2 separate regions of the Homo sapiens genome follow, and region 1 is linked to region 2. The links are contacts of gene promoters, found by promoter capture Hi-C in blood cells and fetal thymus (Javierre and others, 2016). All regions are on one chromosome and are shown on one strand. Each heading gives the region's core, a stretch centred on a gene start or on the middle of the fragment in contact. The rest is flanking DNA. Distances are from core to core; before and after follow the strand shown.

Region 1 (5,583 bases), core at 1,783-4,282, 1.4 Mb after region 2:
AAATACAAAAATTAGCCAGGCACGGTGGCAGGCACCTGTAATCCCAGCTACTTGGGAGGCTGAGACACAAGAATTGCTGGGAGGCAGAGGTTGCAGTAAGCCAAGATCGCACCACTGCACTCCAGCCTGGGTGACAGAATGAGACTCCGTCTCAAAAAAAAAAAAAAAAAGAAAAAAGAAAAAAGAAAAATTTAGGGAGAATGAATGTCACTCTCAAAGACCCCGGGGCACCCTTGGAGGGCTCACAGAAGCCACTGAGCACCCCTAAATCTAAATCTGATGCCATCAGCGATCTCCTGACATGGCAACTCTGTCAAAAGTTCTGACCTCCCCTTCTAAGACCCTCTGGGGAGCACCCCCGGTCTCAGAGGCCCTTCACTCAGCAGCACCACACCCCGAGACAAGCTGTCTCCTCCAAAGGCCTCCTGAGACCGCAGCCCACTCATTTTGTATTCACACATGAGGAATGCACACACTCTCTCACATGAACACCAACATACGCGTCTTTCTCAGTTTCAGATCCTATCCCCTGGGTGGCCCCCTTCAGCCCTTTCTCTTGAAGACCCTCGATAAGGACCTGATGGGAACATTCCTTGCTTCAGAGACCCCTAGGAGCAGGTCAGCCGACCTGGACTTGCAGCCCAGCTTCAAATGACCCTGGAGCAGTTAATATGCTTCTCCAACCTTCAGTCCCTACCTGTAAGAAATGGAGACACAATAACGTCTGTCTTACTATTAATAAATATGCAAAATATGGGAGTGATGATTAGGTCTGCCCTAATTCAAATGCCTCCCAATGGAGCCGCAACTTTGGCCGGGCCCTGTTTCACATATGCTGGAAATACAGAGTTGACCAAATTGATTCCTCAGCTTATAGACACACCAGGTTGTAAAGACTGTTTCTTTGGGTTTTTTTTTTTTTTTCTTTTTGAGACGGAGTCTTGCTCTGTCGCCCAGGCTGGAGTGCAGAGGCGCAATCTCGGCTCACTGCAAGCTCCGCCTCCCAGGTTCACGCCATTCTCCTTCCTCAGCCTCCTGAGTATCTGGGACTACAGGTGTCCACCACCACGCCCGGCTAATTTTTTTTGTATTTTTAGTAGAGACGGGTTTTCACCGTGTTAGCCAGGATGGTCTCGATCTCCTGACCTCGTGATCCACCTGCCTCGGCCTCCCAAAGTGCTGGGACTACAGGCGTGAGCCACCGCGCCCGGCTGGTTTTGTTTTGTTTTGTTTTTTGAGACAGCGTCTCACTCTGTCGCCCAGGCTGGAGTGCAGTGGCACAATCTCGGCTCACTGCAACCTCTGCCTCCTGGATTCACGCCATTCTCCTGCCTCAGCCTCCCAAGTAGCTGGGACTACAGGCACCCGCCATCATGCCTGGCTGATTTTTTGTATTTTTAGTAGAGACGGGGTTTCACCGTGTTAGCCAGGATGGTCTCAATCTCCTGACCTCATGATCCGCCTCCCAAAGTGCTGGGATTACAGGTGTGAGCCACCATGCCCGGCCTATTATTTTTATTTTTTGAGACAAGGTCTCGCTCTGTCGCCCAGGCTGGGGTGCAGTGGTGCAAACATAGCTCACTAGAGCCTTGAACTCCTGGTTTCAAGTGATCCTCTTGTCTCAGCCTCCTGAGTAGCTGGGACTACAGGTACGCACCATCATGCCCAGCTAATTGTTTTACTTTTTTGCAGAGATGGGGATCTTGCTATTTTGCCCAGGCTGGTCTGGAACTCCTGGCCTCAAGCGATCCTCCCACTTTGGCCTCCTGAGCGCCGGATTACAGGTGTGAGCCACCGCGCCTGGCCCAGTTTGTAAAGATTCTTCATCAGAGGGAAGAGGACTTCCAGCTCCATCTGGGACCTGATGAGTCCCAACCTGTGGCTGAGAATTAAAGGGCATGATGCCCATGAAACGCTCAGGCTGGAAGGGGCAAGACTCAGATTTACTCTATAAGAGAATGCCAGGGCCGGCCGGGCATGGTGGCTCACGCCTGTAATCCCAGCACTTTGGGAGCCCGAGATGGGCGGATGGCCTGAGACCAGGAGTTCCAGATCAGTCTGGCCAACACGGTGAAACCCCGTCTCTACTAAAAATACAAAATAATTAGCCAGGCGCGGTGGCGTGAGCCCGTAATCCCAGCTACTTGGGAGGCTGAGGCAAGGGAATTGCTCGAACCAGGGACGTGAAGGTTGCAGTGAGCCGAGATCTCGCCACTGCAGTCCAGCCCGGGCGACAGAGCAAGGCTCTGTCTCAAAAAAAAAAAAAAAAAAGGAGAATGCCAGGGCTTGCGGGTCCCCTTCATTCCCCTGCAAGGCTACCCTCATAGTAGCTCCTGATCCACCTCACCTAGGACCTCTCTGGCGGTCCCAGTAAAAGCTTCAGGTGTCCCTAACCACCCAGCACCCCCTGACCACAGAAAGACCTCATCCCACCCCAAAACTTTCTCAAACATCTGTACCGCCCTCAGATGCCCCAATCATGACTCATGATCCCCTCTAACAATCTCTACCCCGTTGGAAAGTCTCGTGGTCCCTTAGCTCCTTGGACCTGATAATAGCCCTGTCTCACTCCACAATTTCCCCGAGCCTGGCGATAGCTTGGGACCGCCTCAGATGACCCCAGGGACTAGCTTGTCGCATGTCACGACCTCCCAGTGCTCCCCAACCCTGCTGGACCCCCTACCAACATCCATTTCACACAAGATCCCCCCCTACGACCGCCCAAGACACCCCGATGACAACCACGTGCGTACCCGCGAGACTCCCAGACCCGTTCGATCCAAACAGCCCCCAGTAACCCCACGACCTCCCTGCGGCCTCGGCCCTCCACCCTCGGGGCCCGGCCGGCGCTCACCAGCGACGCTGGCAATACTGGTGGTGCTGTAGGCTTTGCGGTGGCAATCGGTGCCATCGGGGATATCCCAGTACTGACGAAAAACCTTCGGCGCCATAGCCCGCAATCTCGATCCCGCACCACGGACCCCGCCAGCTCGGGAAGCGCAAGGGCAGCCGCGGCTGGCTATCGCGAGACTTCTCGGGCTGCGCGCGCAACCTTTCGGGCTAGCGGGCCGGCAACAAGTGAGCAACTTTATTGATAGGCGCGGACATGGACATGGATCGCGCGCACGCGCCGGGGACCGGCCTGGAGGAAGAGAGTAGCACGTGCATCCCCAGGCCGATTCCTAGAGGGTGAAACTGAGGACGACTGCGATCAGTGCAGACAGATTTCGCTAGTCCCAGCTCAGGGAGTCCTAGGTTAGGGACTACTAGAGGCGGGGACTATCTACTAGGGGAGGGGCCGGGCTCAGACTGGGACGGGCGGGACTCCAGTTGATAGGAGCAAGACATGACGAAACAATGACTGGGGGGCGGGGCATGGCGGGGATGTGGCCACACCCAGTGTCAGAATCTGCATAGCGAGTGGTCATGCCCTGTGGTCAGTCACCAAGCTGGAGTCTGAGCAGCGTGCTACTGTTTTGGGCCGTGGACAGGATCAGGGGCGGGGATTATCGGGAAAGTGACCAATGACAATACGAGAAGCTCAGCGGGACGTGGCCTCTGTTCACCCCGCGGCTGTCCCACGCCCTAGGCCGGATGAAGTACACAGGCGCTTGACTTGGGGGCGTGGCTAGAATTGGAGGCATAACCTAAAAGGGACTTGACCAATCTGAGACTGTATAAGGGATGAAGGGGCGAGGCCGTGCCTGGATCTACCCCTGACAGGCCACAGGTTCGGGGGGCGTGGTCAGGCTTGCTGTTTCGCGGAGTCCGGGCCAATCCTGGTGTTAGCTTCCAAGTAGGGAGGGGACAGTATCGAAGGTGTGACCAATCTTGTTTCCAGAGCCTGAGTTGCGCGAGCCGCCAAAGGATGTGGCCAGCCTGGGGGCGTGGCTGTCAAGATCTTGTCCAATCCTAGAGTGAGCCCAAACTCAGGGGCGGAGTTTCATGATCCCGGAACCGGTGGTAGTGTTTGGGTTTGAGGAGAGCACGACCCAGCCCTCTGGGGTGGGGTCTAGCGGGGTCAGCGACCAATCGCGCCGAGGTCTAGTGGGGCGGGGCCCTCCCGGGGGCGGGGCCTGTGCCAGTTCCGGGCCGCCTGGGGGCGTGGCCGGGCCTGTACAGCAGCCTGGGCCATGTCGGCGCCGCCGGCCCTGCAGATCCGGGAGGCAAACGCACACCTGGCAGCCGTGCACCGGCGCGCAGCGGAGCTGGAGGCGCGGCTGGACGCGGCGGAGCGCACGGTGCACGCCCAAGCCGAGCGCCTGGCCCTCCACGACCAGCAGCTGCGCGCCGCCCTAGACGAACTGGGTCGCGCCAAGGACCGGTGAGGCCCGGGGCCGGCCAGGTGGACTTCACCGAGGCGGTAGGCGGAGGCAGAGCCGAGGCTGGAAAGCGAGGAAGGGCAGGGGGAACCGTGTGCACTTGTATAGACGCTAGACTGAGTATCGGATTGATAAAAACACCAAAAAACTCGAATTAGTAATCAGTATGTAAAGTTGCGAGAAGTGACACAGGTGTGGACCTCTAACTTCAAACAGGCCCACTTTCCCACAGGTGCTGAGCGACGCAGGGACCACAGACCGCCCAGCGTAGGCATTGGGAGCCATAGCAGGCTCTTCAGCAGGGGAGGAGGGGATCATATCAGCATTTTAACTTTTAAAATTTATTATTATTTTTTTGAGACGGAGTTTCGCTCTTGTCGCCTAGGCTGGAGTGCAGTGGCGTGATCTCAGCTCACTGCAACCTCCACCTCCCAGATTCAAGCGATTCTCCTGCCTCAGCCTCCCGTGTAGCTGGGATTACAGGCGCCCGCCACCACGCCCGGTCGATTTTTTGTATTTCTAGTAGAGACTGGTTTTCGTCACGTTGTGCAGGCTGGTCTCTAACTCCTGACCTCAGGTGATCCGCCCGCCTCAGCCTCCTAAAAGTGCTGGGATTACAGGGGTGAGCCACCGCACCCGGCCTAAATTTATTATTTTTGAGGCAGGGCCTCACTCCTATGCCCAGGCTGGAGTGCACCTCGACCTCCGGAGCTCAGGTGATTCTCCCACCTCAGTCTCCCAAGCAGCTGGGACTACAGGCGTCCACCACCACGCATGGCTTATTTTTTGTATTTTTTTGTAGAGACAGTTTTGCCCTGTTGCCCAGTTTGGTCTTGAACTCCTGGGCTCAAGCAGTCCTCCCACCTCACCCTTCCAAAGTGCTGGGATTACAGGCTAAGCCACCATGCCTATCTATTATTTTTGAGAGAGGGTCTTGCTCTGTTGCCCAGGCTGGAATGCAGTGGTGCGATCTCGACTCACTGCAGTCTCACCCTCCCTCCTCAGCCTCTCAAGTAGCTGGGATTACAGGCGTGCGACAGCACACCTGGCTGATTTAAAAAAAAAAATCCTTTAGAAATGGGGTCAGACTATGTTGCCTAGGCTGGCCTTGAACTCCTGGGCTCAAGTGATCCTCCTGCCTCAGCCTCCCGAAGTGCTGGGATTATAGGCACGAGCCACCATGCTGGCCCATATCAGCATTGTTGAAGAGTCCCTCTGACAGCTGAGGATGAAAGAGATGAGACAGGCACCCAGGGAGGTG
Region 2 (5,510 bases), core at 1,537-4,036:
CCTCAGTCGTGCTGGGATTACTGGTGTGAGATGCCATGCCAGGCCTTACGTTTCAGTTTTAAAGAAATGGTCTTTGTTGATCCATATTTCACATGCATAGGGATGTTTTTTGAGAATAAAATACTCTCTTTGTATCCTCTGATCAGATCCCCCCAATAGTTTCCCAAGAAGTTAAAATAAAACCCAAACTTCTCATTTATGTTTGTAATGTATTGTGATAGGTCCTCTACGGACCCCTCCAGCCCTCCAGCTTTATCTGTTTCCCCTACTCACACACAGTCATCCTAGGATCAGATGGGTTTTTTGTTGTTGCTGTTGTTGTTCTTGTTTTTGCTTGTTTGCTTTTTCTTTTCTTTTCTTTTTTTTTTTGAATCAAAGTCTCGCTCTGTCACCCAGGCTGGAGTGCAGTGGCATGATCTTGGCTCACTGCAACCTCCGCTTCCCGGGTTCAAGTGATTCTCGTGCCTCAGCCTCCCGAGTAGCTGGAATTACAGGCGCCTGCCACCACGCCTGGCTAATTTTTTGTATTTTTAGTAGAGATGCGGTTTCACCATGTTGGCCAGGGTGGTCTCAAACTCCTGACTTCAAGTGATCTACCCGCCTCGGCCTCTCAAAGTGTTGGGATTACAGGCGTGAGCCACCGCGCCCGGTCTCGTTTGTTTTTTGCAACGGAGTCTCGCTCTGTCACCCAGGTTGTAGTGTAACGGCGTGATCTCGGCTCACTGCACCCTCCGCCTCCCAGGTTCAAGTGATTATCCTGCCTCAGCCTCCCAAGTAGCTAGGAGTATAGGCGCCCACCACCACGCCCGGCTAATTTTTGTATTTTTTCTAGAGATGGGATTTCACCATGTTGGCCAGGCTGGTCTCGTACTCCTGACCTTAAGTGAGGATCAGACGCTTGTTTTTGCTCTTCCCTCTGCTCCTCATGCCCTCCCAGGGCTCGCCTCACTATCATGTCCAACTTCTATTCATTCTCCCAGTGTCTGGTTAAACTCACTTCATCCAGTAACCCTCTGTGATCCCCCAGGAGAGAAGAAGTCGTCTCCATTATTCAGCTTTTTTTCCTCAAGCACCCTGGTTCATTTTAGTTCTTACCATGGATCCTAATTACAAAAAACAAAACAAAACACAGCAACATCAACAAATTTTAAAACTTAACATTTCTTGGCCCTGTTATACTTGATTCCTGGAAGGTAGAGTTTTGTTTTTTGTTTTTGTTTTTTTTTTGAGACAGAGTCTCGCGCTGTCGCCCAGGCTGGAGTGCAGTGGCACGATCTCGGCTCACTGCAAGCTCCGCCTCCCGGGGTCAGGCCATTCTCCTGCCTCAGCCTCCCTAGTAGCTGGGACTACAGGCGCCTGCCACCACGCCTAGCTATTTTTTTTGTATTTTTAGTCGAGACGGGGTTTCACTATGTTAGCCAGGATGGTCTCGATCTCCTGACCTCGTGATCCACCCACCTCGGCCTCCCAAAGTGCTGGGATTACAGGCGTGAGCCACCACGCCCTGCCGGAAGGTAGAGTTATAGCTTTTTTTTTTCTGCTCTGTCACCCAGTCTGGAGTGCAGTGGCGCGATCTCGGCTTACTGCAACCCCCCGCTCCTGGGTTCGAGTGATTCTCCTGCCTCAGCTTCCTGAGTAGCTGGTATAGGTGCGTGCCACCACGCCCAGCTAATTTTTGTATTTTTAGTAGAGACGGGGTTTCACCATGTTGGCCAGGCTTGGTCTCAAACTCCTGACCTCGTGATCCGCCCGCTTCGTCCTCTCAAAGTGCCGGGGTTACAGCCGTGAGCCATCGCGTCCGGCCGAGTTATAGCTTCTAATACTTCCTGTATTTCCTGTTGCCGGGCTCAGTCTAGAGCAGGGTCCTCACAATCATTATGGGCCCCATCTTCCAAGTGCAGAGAGCGAAGCCCAGGACAATCAAGTGACTCGGCCCCACGGTATTCAGTACATTTTTCTTGAATGAATGAATAGGTCTGTGTGGCGTTTTGGGGCCCTGGCATATAGTAGGTACTCAGTTAAGTTTTTAACTAAGTGAAGAAATAACTATTTTGTGCATTTTGTGGCTGTTTATACTAAGAGCTCCCCCGGAGCCTGCCCCTTCCTCTAAGTCCCGCCTCCTCGAGCTGGCAATCGCCCGTCCCTGTTTTATGTTGTATCGCTCTTCTTTCGATAGCCAATGGCCGACGTTCCCGCTGAAGCCCCGCCTCTTGTGATGGCCAATGCCTGCTCCCTACCTTGAGGCGCTTCTCTTGTGGTATCCAATGGCTTGCATATCTACTTTAAGCCTCTCCTCCTGAGCGGGAGAGGCTGTCAATGACCCGCCCATTGCGTTAAGTGATTGGCCTTCTTTTCTGCGGTATCCAATGTTCTGCCCTCCTTATATCCCCTTCTCTTGTGGAGGTCTATGTCCTGCCTCTTTCCCTTAAGCTCCACCCCTTCACTCCCTTAGAGCGTCTGTTCGTCTCCTCCCACCTTTCCCTTTCACCTCCCATAACCTCCCATTAGAGTCTCTGGGTTACGCCCCTTGGGTCTGTCCGTTATCCAATCCCGTTAACTGCTGTGCTCCAACCTCTGTTCTTATTGGTCGCCTCCCTTCTCTGTCCCCTGCACGTGGTCCTGATCGACGGCTTTGCCGGCCCGTGACGGCCGGAGGGCTGAACTTCCGTTGGCGCAACGCCCAATAAGCGCGCGTCGGCAGGCTGCCCAGACAGCCTCCCCCGCCCCCTCGGCGTCCCGCTCCCGCCCCCGGCTTCGCCTCCCGCTGCCGCCGCCGCCGCCGCCGCAGCCGCTACCGCCGCTGCAGCCGCTTTCCGCGGCCTGGGCCTCTCGCCGTCAGCATGCCACACGCCTTCAAGCCCGGGGACTTGGTGTTCGCTAAGATGAAGGGCTACCCTCACTGGCCTGCCAGGGTGAGGCCGCGCGGGAGATGGGGCCGGTGGGGGGGGGGGGGGGGGCAGCGGGGGCCCCGGGCCGGAGGCGGGCACTGGAGGGCCGGGGTTGTCCTGGGCCTGAAGGAGCTGCGCCCCGGGGGTCTGGGGTTCATGGGGTCTGGGGGTGTCCGAGACCCGCAGCGGCCCCGCCCTGGGGGTCTGGGGGTCCTGGGCCGCAGGGAGCTGCGCCCTAGGGGTCTGGGGTTGTCCGGGGCCTGCCGGAGCCGCGCCCCGGGGTCTAGGGATCCTGGGCCTCAGGGAGCCCCGCCCTCGGGGCCTGGGGGTCCTGGGCTGCAGGGAGCCGCGTTCTTGTGGTCTGGTGGTGTTCGGATCCTGCAGGACCCGCCGTCTGGGCCTGCAGGAGCCCCTCCCGGGGTCTGGGGGTCCTCGGCCTCAGGGAGCTGCGTCCTGGGGTTCTGGGGGTGTCCAAGCCCTGCAGGAGCCGCGCCCCGGGGTCTGGGGGCCCTGGGCCTCAGGGGGCCGCGCCTAGGGGTTCTGAGGGTGTCTGCGGCCTGAGAGACTCTCGCCCTTGGTGTATGAGGGTTTTGGGGCTCAGAGAGTCGCTCCCTGGGAGTCTGGGGGTATCCTGGGCCCGAGGGAGTCGCACCTTGGGGGTTTGGGGGTGTTTGGGGCCTGAAAGAGCCGCGCGCCGACGGTCTGGGGGTCCCGGGCCCGAGGAAGCGGTGCCCTGGGGGTCTGGGGCCTGATAAATTCTCACTCTGGGGGAATGGCGGTCCTGGACCTGAGGGAGCTGCGCCGTGGGGATCTGGGGGGTGTCCAGGGCCTGAAGGAGCTGCGGCGCCAATGGTCTGGGGGTCCTGGGCCTGAGGAAGCTGCGCTCTGGGGGTCTGGGGCTTCTGTGCCTGAGGGAGCTGCACCATGGGGATCTGGGGTTGCCCTGGCCCAGAGGGAGCCACGCCTCGTGTGTCTGGGGGTGTCCAGGGTGCCTCAGGGAGCCGTGCGCAGGGTGTCTGGGAGGGTCTGGGACCTGAGGGACCCTCACCTGAGGGCCTGGGGATCCCAGGCCTGAGGGCTCAAGGTTCAAGTTTGAGCAGAACTGCGGAACTTGAGATTTGGGGTCAGATATGGGGGCTGAAGCACTCCCTTGTGGGTCCTGGAGAAGCCCAGTTTTGAGGGGCTGGGGGGCCGAGGGCCATGTGCTAGGGGTCCAGGGTTGGAGGAGGCAGTCAGGGGGGAAGGTTGAGGGTCAAGGCTAAGGGAAGCTGGGACCTCTGAGTGAGGGGCTGGGGGTGGGGGAATGGGGCTCGGGGCTCTGTTCACGGGGTCACTGGGACTCGGGGAACTGGACCTTAGAATGAAGTTGGCATCGGGACTGTTGGGGGACCCTGGGGATTGGTCCCCTGTGGGGAGGAGGATGTAGAAGCTGGTTTTGGAGGGACTTGAGGGTGGGGTGGTCCAACCCCAATGCTTGAAATGGAGACAGGCCCGGGCCCAGGGAGTGGGAGCGCTTCTGAGGGAAGGGGGCTGGCCGAGGGGACCTTGGATGCCCCTTTGGTGGAAGCTGGGGTCCCGACGACCTGGATAGTCCCAGGTGTCCTGGCCTGAAGGATATTCCGCACCTTGGAGTCCCAGGTGTGGAGGGGGTGAGTTCCAGGCCCTGAGAGGTACAGGCCAGCGGGAAGCAGGGACCCCAGGCTATTGTCATCCCCAGGTCTTAGGGCTGAGTCTCCCAGGGCTGAGGTTGGTGGAATTTGCCGGGCAGGACTGAGGAATTTGGCACTGGGGGTGGAAGGCTGGGGCAGCAGGGAGGGGCTGTGGAGGGGGACACCAAACGGTGCTCTGGACCAGAACCAGCCCAGGTCCGAAGCTGGCAATGCCGCTGGGATGGGTGGGCCTCGGAGGACCGTGGGCGGGTCTTGGGAGAAGCGGGGCTGTGAGGCATGCCGGGCTGGTCCTCGGGTGGACTGAATTTAGGATGCTTCTGGCGGGAGAGGGATGCTGGGCCTGGCGGCCCATGGCCGAGCCCAGGGGCCAGGGACTCTGATAAAGTAGCTCTGAGGAGACCCAAGCGAGAAGGAAGCTGGGTGAGTGGGGCAGGGAAGATCGGGAGCCCCCTAGAAGCTGGAGACGTGGATGGGGAAGGAATGCATTGGGAGGGGAGAAGCCACTCCAGCCTGCTGTGCTCGCGCTGACTTTCTTGGGGGAGACCAGAGCAATGCAACTTTATAGGCACTTCCCTCCCTTTCCCAGCTCTCTTCTTCCCAGAGCACTCGCTTTTCTCTCCCCCGTCCCCCCTTCTCCAGCCTGCTCTCCTAGCCCCAAACGTTTCCAAGCACCTGATTGGAAGTGAAGGGGCTGTTAGTCTCCTGTGGGGAGGTGACTGACAGCTGCCGGAGCCCATGGGCCTGCAGGGAGAGGGTGGGACTTCCTGGATGCTCAGGGCCGTTTCTTGTAGCCCACCCCCCACCCTCTGCATCCTTGGAGCTGCCAGCTGCATCCTCTGGGGGACCGCCCGTGAGCCCCTCTTTGCGGGAGGGGTCCCCAGGAAAGGTCCTGGGAGTCCATAGACGCTGAGCTTGGCCCCACCCCCTGGTTGCTTCAGAGGGCCGGATCTGG

The links. Contacts are between HindIII fragments. The CHiCAGO score rates a contact against its expected background, and 5 or more counts as called.
Region 1: the fragment with the promoter of NDUFA11 here is called in contact with the fragment with the promoter of HDGFL2 in region 2 in 1 of 17 cell types (neutrophils); the score reaches 5.1 in neutrophils.

Annotation. Positions count from the first base shown.
Region 1 is chr19:5,900,758-5,906,340 of GRCh38, forward strand. It overlaps NDUFA11 (NADH:ubiquinone oxidoreductase subunit A11), which reads right to left and starts at 3,033. Exons shown (of 4, transcript NM_175614.5): 1 at 2,855-3,033. The coding sequence starts at 2,951. VMAC (vimentin type intermediate filament associated coiled-coil protein) reads left to right here and starts at 4,115. Exons shown (of 2, transcript NM_001017921.4): 1 at 4,115-4,324. The coding sequence starts at 4,134. RefSeq lists enhancers at 2,465-3,111, 2,921-3,215, 3,789-3,908 and a silencer at 3,949-4,298. The HindIII fragment of the contact is 6,218 bases long and covers 2,376-5,583 here.
Region 2 is chr19:4,469,511-4,475,020 of GRCh38, forward strand. HDGFL2 (HDGF like 2) reads left to right here and starts at 2,787. Exons shown (of 16, transcript NM_001001520.3): 1 at 2,787-2,912. The coding sequence starts at 2,841. RefSeq lists enhancers at 1,433-1,602, 1,863-2,212, 4,702-5,510, 5,004-5,143 and silencers at 2,713-2,892, 2,923-2,982. The HindIII fragment of the contact is 12,260 bases long and covers 1-5,510 here.